Regions from separate parts of the Homo sapiens genome. Here region 2 is linked to region 1. The links are contacts of gene promoters, found by promoter capture Hi-C in human tissues and cell types (Jung and others, 2019). All regions are on one chromosome and are shown on one strand. Each heading gives the region's core, a stretch centred on a gene start or on the middle of the fragment in contact. The rest is flanking DNA. Distances are from core to core; before and after follow the strand shown. Region 1 holds the start of CADM4 (cell adhesion molecule 4). Region 2 overlaps ZNF223 (zinc finger protein 223).

Region 1 (2,847 bases), core at 173-2,672:
CTCCTCTCACCAATCTCTGCCGAACACCCAGCCCTCCTGCTTCTGCCTAGCCACCTTCCAATCCTCTGTTCCTTCCAAAAGTGGCCTTATCCACCAGGGAGGGGTGACCCGTGGCAGGTTCAAGACTTACACAGTGTGAGAGTGTGTGTGGGTGACATTTCCTGACCTTGTCCCCATTCTCAGGGTCACCCAACCTCGGGGGTCTCCAGCTTCTCACAGTGTGTGATGAGGGTATGTGGATGGCTCCCTGGATGTCCTGGACAGGGGCTTCTCTGTGAGTCAAGCCTGGGTGTGTGAATGGGTGAGCAGGGTTTGGAGAGGCATTCGCTGAATCCACGTGTGTGCCTACACGCCAAGGTCCCCCATTCTCACTTCCCCACACACATGCACACAGATGTTCCCCTCCAGGGCTCTTTAGAATGCCCTGCCTGACTGAATTCCTCTTCAGGGGCACAGAGGGATAGAGAGAGGGAGGAAGGTAGGATGGGAATGGGAGATCCCGGGATGGAGGCTGTAAGCGTAGAGAGAGGAGGCACAGCAGAAAGACAGGGATGGAGATAGTGGGACAGAGAAGGGGGAAAGAGACAGGTGACAGAAAGGGTTAGAGAAACGAGTGACAGAAAGACAGGGGACAGAGACAAGGGGATGGGGCAGATAGGGGACAGAGAAAAAGGGACAGAAAAACAAGGGTGACAGCGAGACAGAGACAGGGACCAAGAATAGGGGCAGAGAGGGAGGGCAGAAATCCGGGGGAAAGAGAATAGACAGGATGATGGAGGGGACAGAGTGACCCAGGAAAAGGGGACAGAGACCAGGGGACAGAGGTAGGGGACAAAGACAGAATAGATGAGGAACACCGAGGCAAGAAGAGAGGGAGACAGACAGAAGGAGGGACAGGACTTCGAGACTGAGGGATAGAGGACAAGGGTAGGGGGACGAGGAGCCAGACGGGGGGGTTCAGAGACGGGCGGACAGAGGGACGCAGAGACTGGACAGAAGGACAGCGGGACCGGCCTGGGGAGGGCGGACTTGTGTGTGTAGGGGGGTCTCGGGCCCTTTGTCCCCGCCGGGATCCAGCCTGCGCGGGTGGGGGGGCTGCGGCACGGCGGCCGGGCCCCGCGCCCCCTCCCCCGCTCGTCGCTCCCGGCTCCCGGCCCGCGCTGCGCTTTGTCCCGGGGAGGGGGCCCGGCCCGGCCCCGCGCGCATTGTTCGGCCTCTGCGGCCCCGAGGCTGCCGGGCTGTCACCACAGCGCGCCCCCCGCCCCAGCCCGGCCGGCCGACCCCGGCCCCCGACCCTACCTGGCCCCGCCGCGGCCGCCCACAGCAGCAGCAGCGGCCACTGGAAGCGCCGGGCCCGGCCCATGGTGCCGCCGCCGCCGCCGCCGCCGCTCGCTCCCGGCCCGGCACCTGCACCGCCCGCGCCGCCCGCCCCGCCCCCCGCGCCCCGCCCCCTGCCCGCCCGGGGGCGGGGCGCCGAGGCCGGGGCGGGGCCGGGGAGGGGAGGGGGAGACGGAGGAGAGGCCCGGAGACAATCGGGGGGACGGCACGGTGGGGGAACGGTGCGGGGTGCGAAAGCTGGAGAGGAGAGGGGTGAGGAGGGCGGGAAGGGGTGCGCGGGAGGGCGACAGCGGCGTGGGAGCAGGTGGGGGATCTCGGTGAGCGCGGGAAATGGAGGGTGTTGGGTGAGGGTGCTGCGTGCGGGCCCAGGTGCTGCGCGCGAGGGTGCGGAGTTGCTGGCATGCAGGGTGCTTGCGCTGCGCGGAGGGGAGGGTGGCAGGGTGTTGCTGGAGGCTGTGCGAGGGTGGGGGCGCGGGCGTCGTGGGGTGCGGTGTGTGCGAAGGGAGAGCGTGGCCAGCGTGACGGGGGAGCGTAAGGGAGGGAGTGCGACGTGGGAAAGGTGAGTGTGAGAGGCGTGCTGCGGGCAGGTGGGTGTCTGGAGTCTAGCGAGAGGCTGTGAGCTGAGCCACCGGGACAGGGGAGGCTGCAGCTGGAGGTCCGGAGGGTCCGGAGGTCGAGGCAGGTCAAGGATCTCCCAGGGCAGGGCGAGGCTGGGGCTCAGGAGTGGGGTGGGGTCAGTTCCCTCCCTCCCTCTCTCCTGTCCTGACCTGAAAACCCCGTGTTTCCGCGTCATTCTCCGGGAGGGGCCCCCTGAAAGTGAACTAACTGGAAGGAAGCCTGAATCCTGGGTCCCAGGAGGGAGAGGCTCCTGTGAACACCTTCCAAGCCCTGGCGTCCCCTCTCCTCCCTGCTGTCTCCCTGCCCCAGCCTCTCTCCCTCTCTCTGCATGTATTTGCCTCTGCCCTTCCTCTCTCCCCATCTTTGAGGGTGACTCACCCCTCCAGACTTAGGTCCCTTCTCCCTCCTGGGAGTGGGTTTCCCTGAGCCCACTTCTGTGACACCCTGTAGACCTGATGCGGGATCATTACCTATGGGACCCAGAAAGAGTGAGAAACCATGGAAAGAAGGCCTCGACCTCTCTCATGCCCATTTGTCAGGCAAACTGAGGTCCAGAAGTGCCAATTATGAACATCTTTCCTTCCCCCCTCCCCCCTCCCCGCCCAGACGGAGTCTCGCTCTGTTGCCCAGGCTGGAGTGCAGTGGCACGATCTCGACTCACTGCAACCTCTGCCTCCCAGGTTCCAGTGATTCTCCTGCCTCAGCCTCCCGAGTAGCTGAGATTACAGGCGCCCGCCACCATGCCTAGCTAATTTTTATATTTTTAGTAGAGACGGAGTTTTGCCATGCTGGCCAGGCTGGTCTTGAACTCCTTACCTCAGGTGATCCATCTGTCTGGCCTCCCAAAGTGCTGGATTACAGGCGTGAGCCACCATGCCTGGCTGAAAATCC
Region 2 (2,763 bases), core at 51-2,550, 430 kb after region 1:
CTTTGTGGACCTCTGGAAGGACAGCCTTTCAGATTCCCCTCAGAACTGCAGTTGTCTGTCTCTGTACTCTTTCAGATAACCAACTTATCATCCATATCAAAACAGAAAAATAAGATTAAGTATTTTATATGTGTCATGCAAAATTCTTGTATAGGAATACTTTCGATTTGTAGATATAAACATTCTAAGGTGTTTGATGTTTAGTATCATGAAGGGTTAAACTAAAAAGTTTAATGGGACATTTTACAGAGAACTGCTCTCACTTCACTCCAAGTGCAAATTCGGCAGTTTTTCAAAACTACCTTCACATTCAATAATTTCCTAGAAAGACCCTCAGAACTCACTGGATGTATTTATTCTCACAGTTACTGATTTTTACAAGCAAAAGATGCATATTATAGTTAACCAAGGGGGAAAAACCAAATAAGACAGAGTCCAGTGAAGTACCAAATGTGGATCTCCTATTGTATTCTCACAGTAGAGTCGGGCATGTTACATACCCAAAATTAGCATGTGACTTAGACACAAGGAACCACCAATCAGGGAAACTCAACTGAGTGCTGGGATCCAAGTAATTATTGGGGCTCCATTACATAGCCATAATTGGTTGGTTGATTCCTGTGTGGTTATTTAGTCTTTTGGTCCACTGGTTCCCTGTGACCTAAAGACCTACATTAAATCACATCGTTATTTTTTCTGACATGGGGAATGCCACCTGCCATTTCCCATCCCCCAAAGCTGTGGCTAGTCACAACCCTAAATTATATTATTTCACTGTCAAGAGTTACCCAAGATTTGCCCCCAAGCAAACAGAGAGACTCTCCTCAGGCATGCCCCTTCAAGATTCTACAGATTACCTCTCAGATACTGAGGACAAAGTCCTGACCTCTTTTTAGTTAGGTTAACTCCTTTTCTTATTTTTAAAAATGTTTTTTAAGCCATCTTAAACTGAAAGGAAGGTTAACTTCTTTATAAGGATATATAATATACAGGCAAATATACGAAGTATTTATTATGTTACTGCTTTCCCTTAGAGTTCCTTTTGATTCATATTTCATTACGTACATAATAGTTTAGTAATTTATCATGTAAAATTTCAGACTGAGTTGGAAATTTTAAAAACAGTAACAGGTTAAATGTATGTGTCATATTAATTTTTTATTAAACCTTTTATTTCTATCAATGATTTTTTATTTGAAATGTGGTATGTTTTTTTCTTTCTTTTCTTTTTTTTTTTTTTTTTTGAGGCAGAGTCTCACTGTGTCGCCCAGGCTGGAGTGCAGTGGCACGATCTCGGCTTGCTGCAACCTGCGCCTCCTGGGTTCAAGCAATTCTCCTGCCTCAGCCTCCCAAGTATCTGGGATTATAGGTGTGTGCCACCACACCTAGCTGATTTTTGTATTTTTAATAGAGACGGGGTTTCACTATGTTGGTCAGGCTGGTCCCGAATTCCTGACCTCAAGTGATCTGCCTGCCTCAGCTTCCCAAAGTGCCTTGGTCTCCCAAAGTGCTGGGATTATGGGTGTGAGCCACCGTCCCCAGTGACATGGTATGGTTTTAGATTACTCTCATGCAAACCAGAAACCAGGGTGCACTTGGAAAACACAAACTGAACATTCGTTGAAGTTTCATACCATGTCCTAAGTGTGAACTCTTAAAAACACTGAACAGGGCATAGCTTGTCCTGATCTCTTAATTTTGTATTCTGATAGGAGGCAAGATCCAACCTGAGATGAAGACTTTTCCAGAAGCAGGACCACATGAAGGGTGGTCCTGCCAGCAGATCTGGGAAGAAATTGCAAGTGATTTAACCAGGCCTCAAGACTCTACCATAAAGAGCTCTCAGTTCTTTGAACAGGGTGATGCCCACTCCCAGGTTGAGGAAGGACTATCTATAATGCACACAGGACAGAAACCTTCCAATTGTGGGAAGTGTAAACAATCCTTCAGTGATATGTCCATCTTTGATCTTCCTCAGCAAATACGCTCAGCAGAGAAGTCTCATTCCTGTGATGAGTGTGGAAAAAGCTTCTGTTACATCTCAGCGCTTCATATTCATCAGAGAGTCCACCTGGGAGAGAAACTCTTTAAGTGTGACGTGTGTGGTAAGGAATTCAGTCAGAGTTTACATCTGCAAACTCATCAGAGAGTCCATACTGGAGAGAAACCTTTCAAATGTGAACAATGTGGGAGAGGCTTCAGATGTAGATCAGCACTTACAGTTCATTGCAAATTACACATGGGAGAGAAACATTATAATTGTGAGGCATGTGGGAGGGCCTTCATTCATGATTTCCAGCTTCAGAAACATCAGAGAATTCACACAGGGGAGAAGCCATTCAAATGTGAGATATGTAGTGTGAGCTTCCGTCTTAGGTCAAGTCTTAATAGGCATTGTGTGGTCCACACAGGAAAGAAACCAAACAGCACTGGGGAATATGGAAAAGGCTTCATTCGTAGGCTGGATTTGTGTAAGCATCAGACGATCCACACAGGAGAGAAACCATATAATTGTAAAGAATGTGGGAAGAGCTTCAGACGGTCCTCCTATCTTTTGATCCATCAGCGAGTCCACACTGGAGAAAAGCCATACAAATGTGACAAGTGTGGGAAGAGCTACATTACTAAGTCAGGTCTTGACTTGCACCATAGAGCCCACACAGGAGAGAGACCTTATAACTGTGATGACTGTGGGAAGAGCTTTAGACAGGCCTCAAGTATTTTGAATCATAAGAGACTCCATTGCCGAAAAAAACCATTCAA

The links. Contacts are between HindIII fragments. The study calls those that stand out against the background at their distance.
Region 2: a contact is called between a fragment that was not itself captured here and the fragment with the promoter of CADM4 in region 1, in 2 of the 25 tissues and cell types used here (dorsolateral prefrontal cortex and lymphoblastoid cells).

What each region holds. Positions count from the first base shown.
Region 1 is chr19:43,638,428-43,641,274 of GRCh38, forward strand. CADM4 (cell adhesion molecule 4) reads right to left here and starts at 1,423. Exons shown (of 9, transcript NM_145296.2): 1 at 1,300-1,423. The coding sequence starts at 1,363. RefSeq lists a silencer at 1,307-1,446. The HindIII fragment of the contact is 16,381 bases long and covers 1-2,847 here.
Region 2 is chr19:44,064,352-44,067,114 of GRCh38, forward strand. It overlaps ZNF223 (zinc finger protein 223), which reads left to right. Exons shown (of 5, transcript NM_013361.6): 5 at 1,713-2,763. Among named protein-coding and RNA genes, the nearest start is that of ZNF284, 6.4 kb to the right of the region's middle. The HindIII fragment of the contact is 6,488 bases long and covers 1-2,763 here.